Regions from separate parts of the Homo sapiens genome. Here region 1 is linked to region 2. Evidence: promoter capture Hi-C in 16 types of primary human blood cells and fetal thymus (Javierre and others, 2016). All regions are on one chromosome and are shown on one strand. The core of a region is centred on a gene start or on the middle of the fragment in contact, and the rest is flanking DNA. Distances in the headings are between cores, read along the strand shown. Region 1 overlaps LOC105377331 (a long non-coding RNA gene). Region 2 holds the start of CCSER1 (coiled-coil serine rich protein 1).

The links. The method cuts DNA at HindIII sites, captures the fragments that hold promoters and counts their contacts. A CHiCAGO score of 5 or more calls a contact.
Region 1: a contact is called between a fragment that was not itself captured here and the fragment with the promoter of CCSER1 in region 2, in 1 of 17 cell types (total B cells). The highest score is 5.1, in total B cells.

What each region holds. Positions count from the first base shown.
Region 1 is chr4:90,062,733-90,068,460 of GRCh38, reverse strand. All of the region lies in intron 1 of LOC105377331 (a long non-coding RNA gene), which reads left to right. Among named protein-coding and RNA genes, the nearest start is that of CCSER1, 62 kb to the left of the region's middle. The HindIII fragment of the contact is 986 bases long and covers 2,123-3,108 here.
Region 2 is chr4:90,126,039-90,131,200 of GRCh38, reverse strand. CCSER1 (coiled-coil serine rich protein 1) reads right to left here and starts at 3,807. Exons shown (of 11, transcript NM_001145065.2): 1 at 3,370-3,807. RefSeq lists silencers at 2,690-2,939, 3,050-3,249. The HindIII fragment of the contact is 6,776 bases long and covers 1-5,162 here.

The DNA of each region.
Region 1 (5,728 bases), core at 1,366-3,865, 62 kb after region 2:
CAAAGGACATGAACCGACACTTTTCAAAAGAAGACATACATGCAGCCAACAATCATATGAAAAAAGCTCAATATCACTGATAATTAGAGAAATGCAAATCAAAACCTCAGTAAGATACTGTCTAACACGAGTGACAATGGCCATTATGAAGAAGTCAAAAAATAACAGATGCTGACAAGGTTGTAGAGAAAAAAGAACATTATATATTGTTGGTGGGAGTGTAAATTAGTCCAGCCATTGTGGAAGACAGTGTGGCAATTCCTCAAAGACCAATGAAATACCATTGGAACCAACAATCACATCACTCGTTATGTACCCAAAGGAATATAAATATTTCTACTATAAAGACACATCCATGTGTATGTTCATTGCAGCACTATTCAGAATAACAAAGACATGGAATCAACCCAAATGCTCATCAATGTAGACTAGATAAAGAAAATGTGGCACATATACACTGTGGAGTACTATGAAGCCATAAAAAAGAATGAGATCATGTCCTTTGCAGGGACATGGATGGAACTTGAGACCATTATCCTTAGCAAACTAACATAGGAACAGAAAACCAAATGCTGCATGTTTTCACTTATAAGTGGAAGCTAAATGATGAGAACACAAGGACACAGAGAGGGGAACAACACACACTAGGGTATTTCAGAGGGTGAGGGGTGGGCAAAGGGAGAGGATCAGGAAAAATAACTAATGGGTCCTAGGCTTAATACCTGGGTAATGAAATAATCTGTACAAAAAATCCCCATGACAAAAGTTTACCTGTGTAACAAACCTGCACTTGTACCCCTGAATTTAGAAGTTAAAAAAAGTTTGTGGCATGAATTAAGGAAACAATTAACAATGAGATGTCCTTATTAATAAACAAATTAGGAACTCCTATATATATTTTTTTCCTCCCTTAAACAGCTATTCCTTGGATTCCTGAGAGTCTACTATTAATGGGATATTCTTTTATGTTATGTATTATCTTTCTCCATTTATTTCTTAAAATTCACATTCACCTTTAAATGTAGTTTAACCAATCCCTTTACATCTTATTGTGAATGTATTAACCAGAACTTTATCTCTGGTACTGGATATTCTAGGCATCAGAGTCTAAGAAAATGATAAAAGAATGCTTGGAAAAAATGGCTGGAGAAAGCAAAAACAAAGGGGCCAAACAAAAGGCATAGGATTCTTTTTTTTTTTTTAGGGGCCAGAGACCTATTTTATAGGTTTGCTGTTAAAAGTCTTTACATTTTCCCATGTCACTGTCTTTTTTTTATTATTATTATACTTTAAGTTTTAGGGTACATGTGCACAATGTGCAGGTTAGTTACATATGTATACATGTGCCTTGCTGGTGTGCTGCACCCATTAACTCATCATTTAGCATTACGTATATCTCCTAATGCTATCCAGGCATAGGATTCTTGCAAAGAACCAACTAATATAATACTGTATATTTATGGGTTTCTACTCTCCAAATCAAAGCAGAAATTCTCAAACAACCAATTATTTTCTTTTGACTCAACATAATCATTCTAGATTTAATGATATTCCAATTACTTTTCCTGGGTATAATTATTCCTAATAAACATACCACTGTCATGTCAGAGAACATATGTTTTCAGAAATATTGTTCAATTTTGATTGTTGGTGAATTTCAGCCACTATGCCTTCCACCAAGCCTTGTCAAGCCTGCGGTTCTCTTCTCTTTGGCAGTAATGTTTGGAATGGGGTCCCTGCCCTGATGATTCCAAGACTTCTGATATCTGGCCCTAAAAATCCTTATTATAAGGTATACTAGCATTTAATATAACATAAGCTCTGTGAGACTAGAGCATTTCTTTTGTATACAGTCTATATAATATAGTGCCATATAAATAATCATTAATGAATACATGCTGAATAATTGGTTACATCAATAAATGAATAGATTTACTCTGAGAGCGTTTCTTAGAACCAGCTCCCATAGATTTGGATATTGATCTAGGATTATCATACACAGTGAATGAATAATGGGAACACTAATGGTGAGAGTCTGGAAGCTTCCAATTGATGCAGTAATTTCCCATTCAGTCCAACTGATATTCTGCCAAATGAATCAAAAGGCTTTAGAACATAAGCTTGATTCTTAGCTGAGTAAGGTTACATTTGGTGGCTCTAGAATGCCTTCACAGCATTCATAGTTCAAAGAACTTTGTAGTTCATAAACCAGAAATGATCTTGGCTCTAACTTTATGGACAAGGAGACTTGGTCCTTGGTTTCTCCAGGGTTCCAATTATAGTAAAAGTATCAAAGTAGCAGAGAATAATTAAAACCCAGAGCTCCTTATTCCTTATCCAGAGCTCTTTGCTTCCCTTATGACTGAGATACCATCTGATCTAAATGGATAGATTAAACATAAATTTCATTTTTCTTGGTTAGTGTTCTTGTTCACTGATATAGAAAATTGAGCAATTGATTTTTATTAAGGTAAAGTTTATGACAGCTTTCCCAATGATGACCACAGCTGAAGTTGTGGACACTGATAATCTTTTACTGCTTTTAATAACTCTATAAGGAAGGGAAAACAAAACTCACATTTACTGTGAGAAAAAGAAGAAAAGATATCTTAGAAATTGAAGAAACTGGTGGTTACTTCAAATGCCTTCTCTTGTATCGAAACCTAAGAAAAAGTTCTAAAACATTTGTTCAGGCTTTTAAGTTATCTTCAAAATTCCCCAATCCATTTGGTAAACAGTGAAAATAACTGTCTTAGAGCTATAAAATCAGGTAATTGCATTACTTGAATCAACTAGCTTTAAAACAAACAAACAAACAAACAGAAAAACCTTGTAAAGAAACTTTCTCTTTACTCAATATTTTTACTGACCCTCCCTGTTGGTCCCATGACACAGCCTCTTTCCCAGTTTCTTCCTTAACTGTTGACCCTATATATGAAATAAACTGGACTTCCTATTGAACATTGATGTACATAAGCTCAATTCTTTAAACACCTCTGTGGCCTGTGGGCTAATACACTCTTTTTTCACCAGTGTTCACCAATTGTTTTCACAGGATAGAATATGCACTCTGCCTAGGCTAGCTGAAGATTTATCCAAAGCTAAGCTTTCAGAAAAGTCTTTTGCAATCATACCCTATGAGCCTACAGCCCTTGCTGACAAATGCATTTCCTCTTAATGAGACATTTACCTAAACCCTAATAACCTAATAACCCTAATAACCTTAATGAGACATTTACCTCTTAATGAGACATTTATCTAAACCCTAAGCATTAGTAAAGAGTGAAACTGTGCTAGATTATGGGGCACAGATTATGTTCCTTCCTCATCCTACCCATACCCTGAAGGATCCCTAATATCGCAAGGACTTCCAGTCCATTAGCCTTAAGTGATCTATGGTATCACAGGTGTAAATTGCCTGACTTTTAAAAAATATAATTAATCAGCTGTAGGAGATCTTAACAGCTGGGACACAGAACATATGGCTAATAGAAAAGCTAATACAAAAGCTACATATTCTTAGAGCTTATTTGTGTCAATGTAGGAAAAATCCTATTCTTTACCCCCAGAAACTTGACAGTATTAGTTATTTATATTCTGTCCCATAAAGAAACAGGTGCAGACACAGGGCTAGAACTTTCCTTCAATTCCAAGGGTATAGATTTATAGTATTACATGTTTCTAAATCCCTTCATATGGAAAAGCTTCTTACTCTGTGTACGTGTATACCTCAGTAATTGATGATATGAACAATTATATCAAAAAGGCTTTTAAGTTACTTTTTTGTATAAGACCATACTCTAAATTCTATGAAGCAGCAAAAATATTTCAATGCTCCATGTGCATTATTCATATTTACTGTGAAAATGTGGTGAAGGGAGATACTAGATTATTTTGAATCTTATATTGATATTCAAATTGAGATATTCTAAAGAAGTGTGAGTTATAAAAATAAGCTTGGATGTTACAAAAACTAAGACTGTCTTTGAAGAGGAGAATGTTAACGTGGTTCATTTAAGAGACTTTACATTTAATAGCCTCATTTATTCCTTATTTCCATTGTGATGGGAGTCACATGCTGGCTTTGTGATTCACACCTGGCTAGATGTGACGGTGGGGGAGGTTTGCTTGCAGAAGTGCCACTGTATTTCTACAAACATGTGACAGATCCCCTCAAGACAAAAGATAGAAATTTTATTTTTTTTTCAAATTTGGAAAGCGTCTCCTATGAACACCACGTCTTAGGCATTTATTTAAGCAAAATTTACACACTACTGAGAGAGCCTTCATTATGTTTGTGCTATTACCTCTTTTATCTTTTTAATAATAAATATTTATATTGTGCTTTTGTTATTCGTCCTGTTGCTCCCTTCCTCCCACCTTCATTCTTTTTCTTTTTTTTCTTTGAGACAGGGTCTTGCTCTGTCGCCCAGCCTGGAGTGCAGTGGCATGATCTCGGCTCACTGCAACCTCCACCTCCCAGGCTCAAACAATCCTCCCACCTCAGCTACCCGAGTAGCTTGGACGACAGGTGCACGTCACCACACCTGGATAATTTTTTTGTATTTTTGGTAGAGATGGGATTTTGTCATGCTGCCCAGGCTGCTCTGGAACTCCTGAGCTCAAGCGATCTGCCATCCTCAGCCTCCCAGAGTTCTGGGATTACAGCCATGAACCACTGCACCTGGCCCCCAGTTGCATTCTAATCAGTAAATATTTACTGGCTTTCAGAAGTTATTTACTATTTCTTAAGGATTCTCTTTAAGGTTCACAGAAATATGGAGAATGTGTAAATATTAGTTGTTCCAACGAATCCTAATAAAAGTTATAAAACTAGCTACTTCAATTTCACTGCAATAGACTGATTTCCACACTTCTAATTTCAAGAAAATATATAGGTCTATTATTTTGTTAATACATAACCAACATTATTGATGATTTTTCCATAATTCTTTAATAAAAATGTTATTCATTATATGCATAATTTGTTACTAGTTCCCTCTTGCACAAAATCAATGTCTATGTATCTTTAACACATGTAGGGATCTTGGCTCTCTTAGAAGAGCTATGTAATTAAGGTCCTCAGTGGTCGTGGATTTCATTCTAATGGAGGACATTTCTCCTTTAGTTAATATTATTTCCTGTTACAGAATCTGGCCCATTAACTTTCTCACTGCACGTGGTTTAGAACTTTTGGATGTTCAGAACATTTAAAATGATTCGGGAAAAGGAGAGTGGTGGAGGGAGAGAAATAGCAAATTATAATATATCCAAGTATTTAAGTCTTGGCTTTAATACTAAATAGCAAACTACTCGACCATTCTTAACCTTGATTACTTCATTCCTAAACAGTGGTAATAATATTCTTATATTTTCTAGGGAAATTATTGTATAAAATAAGTGAGATAATATATGTAAAGATATTTTGAAAATTGTTAAAGGATGTACAAATATAAAGTGGCCTCATCATTATATACAGATTTCCAAATAAAATAAAGTATATACAGTTTGACTAAATAATCATGTCTTACAGAAAAGTCAGGGCCTAAGCAAAGTTATGAAATTATTGAAGTGTGATTAGATATATTAATCAGGTTGGATTAGGTTATGCTGCATAATAAACTCAAAAACACAGTGGTGACTTAGAACGAAAGGATTTAATTTTTCTTTCAAGGTTCATGTCCTTTGAGAATTTTCTGGGAGACTCAAAGCAAAGGCTGAATGACCA
Region 2 (5,162 bases), core at 2,558-5,057:
GGTGAAACCCCATCTCTACTAAAGTAAATACAAAAATTAGCTGGGTGTGGTGGCGCGTGCCTGTAATCCCAGCTACTCAGGGAGCTGAGGGAGGAGAATCACTTGAACCCAGGAGGCGGAGGTTGCAGTGAGCCGAGATTGCGCCACTGCACTCCAGCCTGGGCGACAAGAACGAAACTCCATCTCAAAAAACAAACTAACAAACAAAAAGACAACATAAAGCTAAAGATTTGTCTTCTTAAATGTGTAAATATTAACAATTAAATTCAAGAATAGAATGTGGGCAGGGCGCAGTGGGTCACGCCTGTAATCCCAGCACAGGAGGCCGAGGCGGGTTGATCATGAGGTCAGGAGTTTGAGACCAGCCTAGCCAACATAGCAAAACCCCATCTCTACTAGAAATTCAAAATTTAGCTGGGCGGGGTGGCATGCGCCTGTAGTCCCAACTACTCCGGAGGCTGAGGCAGGAGAATCACTTGAACCCGAGAGGCTGAGGTTGCAGTGAGCCGAGGTAGCGCCACTGAAATCCAGCCTGGGTGACAGAGCAAAAATCCATCTCAGAAACAAACAAAAAAAAAGAATAGAATGTGTAGAAGGATGTACATCCAAAACAGACTCAACCTGCACTCTGCAAAATATCCAGCAATATCTTAATTTATATCAAAACAAACTTATCTTCCCTTATATGTTCTTTTCTATTATTCCAGGAGACTTGCATCTTATACCTTATATTTTTCTTATCCACAATGTACTAATCCTGCTTATCCTTTAACATCAAGATCAAGCAAGTCTTACCCACCCCCGAAGCATTCTCAAACAAAATCCAGTATGAAATGTTATTGTCATGTTCTGAACTCCTGTAGTACTCATTAGACATGTAATCTCTTATTGTTACGGGTTGTTAACTCTACGCTCAAGCATGAGCATCAGATTCCTCCCACATGGCAAGTAAGTTCCTGAAAGACAGGGAACAAGGAATCTCCCGTTCCTCCCCAATGCCTAGACAGTAGTACTTTGCAAACGTTAGGCCCTTTATTATGAGCATTATGATGAGTAATAAAATGCAATAAAGGGTTGAATAACTATTACTGTAAAAATATAACAAATTTTTCATTTTCTACTTTGTTTTATCTAAATTAACATTCTATGGTATAAATAATGTATCTTTAAAATAATAAACAGTTGCTGATTCTCTTAACTGTCAAAAAACAAAATACTCATAAATAGGACTTTTAATGATTGCAATAATACAGTTCATCAATTACATTTTTTAATTCCCTATTATATCTATGTTCAAATAGTTTGGGATAGTTGAGGTAATAACCCTCCGAATGGGGTTCTCCATCTGAGTTCTAACCTAATATTTAAAGCTGCACATGCTTCCGTGTTGAAAATGTATTTCAAAGTAATATAAATCTAACAAAATCAAAATATCAAATCCTTAACTCTGCTTTGTTTTTCAAAGAACAGGACTGTTTAGGAAAGCAATAAAACAATACAAACAACAGTTGGTTTGTTTTGATCAAAATAACTAATTAATTTAAATGAAGACAAATCACTCTGACAATAGGTTGACCAACTTCTCTTTTTTCTCTGTGAAACTATTGAAAGTGTGGTTACAACATGGAATTTCAATATTTGAAAAACATTGTCTTGGCAGGCTTTTAGAGACATTTCAGTTTGCAATATTAAGGATACTGTCCTACTACTAAACCCAGTCACAGTTCTATAAAAGTACAGGTTGCTACTTTTAAGAGAAAACATTCATTTTATAAGCACCGTGACAGGCACTGTCCCAAGGCATCTTTAAGTTTCAAGTTACGTATCTGGAACATGTACCTGTTATAAAGCAAACAGAAAGAGAAACCAAGACAAATTATATTATAGCCTAGATTACCAGTATTTTAGGTCTTCCCTTAATAACCAGTTTTGAAGGAACCAGTGATAACTGACCCCCACCTAGGTGTCCTCTTATCCGTTTTCCCTAAGGCTGTTAATAAAACCAGCTTTACTTTAAACGTGTACACATTATTTTTAATAGTCCTTGAGGGGCAGAGAAGGGAGGATGTGTGTTACATTTCAATAGGAAGGTATTCAACTGTAAAGATTTCAGAAATGAAAGCTGTTGAAACCAAGTAGGTATTTTCTGACTTGTAAGTCCTACTGACTGCCTGAAAAGGTAAGAGGGGTGGAGAAGAGGACATAAAAACATTAAAGGGCAAAGAATCTGTAACTTCTAAGAAGTATTTTTTTCTACCTGTAAAAATATGAGTTTTTTTTTTACTTCATTTCATATTCCATGTCCCACGAGAGGAAGGGGAAGCATAATTGCTTCTAATTCTGAGGCAGGGAGAGGAGAGAGAGAGAGAGAGAAAGAGAGCAGTTCAGGATACACTAAAAGGAAACCCCAAGAAATTTCACAACTCTTTGCCATAAATAGCCTTTCTTCTCACTCTGGATACCTCCTCCTTTACATCAGCAAGGCTCAGCCTCCACGCACGCAGAAGCACCATTCACAAATCCCTCCGTCACCCTTACCCCTTGCTGGCACCGTGTGTACGAGTCCCTGGGACACAAGCCAAAAGTCGAAGGGGCCAGGGGGCCACATGCGGTTTCAGCTTACGGCTGACTTTCTGCTCAGGTGAACCAACCCACTGGTTAGTCCAGAGCGCGCGCGCGCGCGCACACACACACACACACACACACGCACACAACCTGGGGCCCTTGACGCTCCACCACAAAGCAAGTGGTTCAATCTAAGTCGCTGCCGTTACTGCTGCCTCTGGGCAGGGTCTTGCTTCCAATCCAGGAAACTGGCGCCAGAGGACAAGCAGGCGGAGGCAAGAGGTGGTCCCGGCCCCGCACTGCGGTTCCTCCGGGAGCCCCTGGCTCCCCGCCCCCTCCTCCCCTTCCCCCTCTTCGCCGCCGTCCCCGCCTCAGCACCCGCAGCCCGGGGCGCCAGCGCTGACCGGTCGCCTCTACCTGCGGGACGCGAGTGGCGAGGAAGGGGAGCGACCCGAAGCCTGCGCCAACTCTCGCCGCCTTGGCCAGCGCTCCGCATCGCCCTGGAGCGGCCGCCGCGGCCGCAGGCAGCAAACCACGCAGCAGCGTGGAGGAAATGGCCACGCGGCGCACTGGGAGTCGCGGGCCGGTGGTGAGCGAGCCCGCCCGCCTCCTTCCCACCCCGCCCGCAAGGCCAGGTCTCTGCGCCGAGCACGCCGGGCCTGGGCGCGCGCTGCTCGCAGGCGGCCCCGACACGGCGCGGTCACCTGCCGAGCGGTCATCCCCGCGTCCGCCTGCGGCCGGCCCCGCAAAGCGGCGACGCGACGCGCGACCCGCTGAGCGCTGAGGCACCAGGGGCGTTACTACCTTGAGGGCTCCGTGCGCTTGTTAAGGCTCCTCCCGGGCACTCAGGGATTTATGTCTTCGGGGCACGGGGGTGTCCTTCCTGGTCCCCCTCCTCTGCCCTCCCTCCCCTTCTCGGCTGTTGGGCTCCTCTCCACTCCCAGTTGCACAGAGTCCAGCTGCGTTATTTAATAATCCTCCTGCTCCTCCTGCCTGCGCCAGCGGAGCTGCTCTGCCCGAGCCACCGCTTCCCAGTCAGTCATGTTGAGACAGAGAGAGAGAGAGAGGAGAGGCGGATTGGCAGTAGGTCGGCGACTATTTGTGGTGAGGGAGAGAAGAGCAGAGCAAGAGGAGGGCAGGGGAGGGACGTGGGGAGGCGCTTCCAAGTGTGTGAGTGCGCGGAGTGTGACTGTGTGGGGAGCGCGAGATCCACCTCCCCGGCAGGCCGCGCTCCGGGGCTGTGAGGAGGGCGGGCCCAAGCGCGGCCTTTATACAAGGAGGAGTGTGGTGGGCTGGGCGGGGCGGCTTGGAGGGCGGTGCCCGGCCCACTGCGTCCGCCGGATTCCACGCACGCATCCTCTGGCATCGACGCGCGCACACCCACTGCTGGCCCGCTGCTGAGTTTTCATTTTAGGGGAAGCAGTATCCCACCGTGCTGACCTGGCCTTTTCCCCCAGTCCATCCTAGTGCTTATGTGGAGTTCAAGTGCATAGGCAGGTCAAGACTAAAGAATAGGGGAAGTCTGAAGAGACGTGAAGTGACTGCGGGGATGCTGGAAATAAATGCACTGTATTTCTCCTCTCCAAGGTTCCGATGTTATCTTTTTTCTCTTCCTCCTGTAAGGGAAGGAATTACCAGATTCTTTCGCCGCTTTTCCTTCTCACCCACACAATTCACATCCTGACAAGTGTCTTCATTCCTCAGTAACAAGAAAAGAAACCTAGCTTCTTTCCTTTAAGCAGGTCACACCTCCCAGGAACCATTTGCAGCAATCAATTCTGTAAGATAATGCAAGCACTGCGACTGTGTCCGAGAGTGGAACTTGTGTTCCTACAAGGAAGGCCCTACACAATACAGGCATTACAAGAGAATCAGCTCAATTTGACATCATTTGACTGATGGTCCCCTGGAGAAAATTTGCCAGTTTAGAAATCGAAAAGACTTTTGATGCATGGTTCTGTTGCCTACATAATTTATTTTCCCCTGATCCTCTCTCCCCTTGCACTGCCTCATTTCCTTTCAGGTTTACACTAAGTACTGAACTCTTTCCCATCCATCCCCTTCTTTATCTCCACTCCAGTATATTTATGCCTTTAGCAGGCAATACAGCAAATGTAGTGCATTTAATTCTGTGTGTGTGTGTGTGTGTGTGTGCGCGCGCGCATCTGTTTTTAACCCATTCTGGTAGAATGTAGGACCATTTCTAGGTAGAAAATGCATCCCCAATATTAAGTTTGTACGCCTAACATCACCTCCCTTACCTTCTGCCCAGATTACAAGATGTTGTGATCAGGTGCACTGAGGTATTGAGAAAAACTTCCAGAAATCAAGTGATCTACAGTTTTTTCAAGGTGTGTTTGTGTGTGCGCGTGCGCGTGCGCACGCTCTGTGTAATCTAACTGGCTATGATCTAACTTCTGAAATGTGGTTATATTGGGAATAAAAGCAAGATGTATTTTTTAAATGAATCTGAGTGGTCAATGTATATTACAGCATGGGGACAACTCTGCTTTTGGGAGACAATTATAGGAAACATTTTTCATAAATTAGACAAAAGGAAGATAAGATTTAGGAGGCTACGGAGGAGGCGGCAAGGT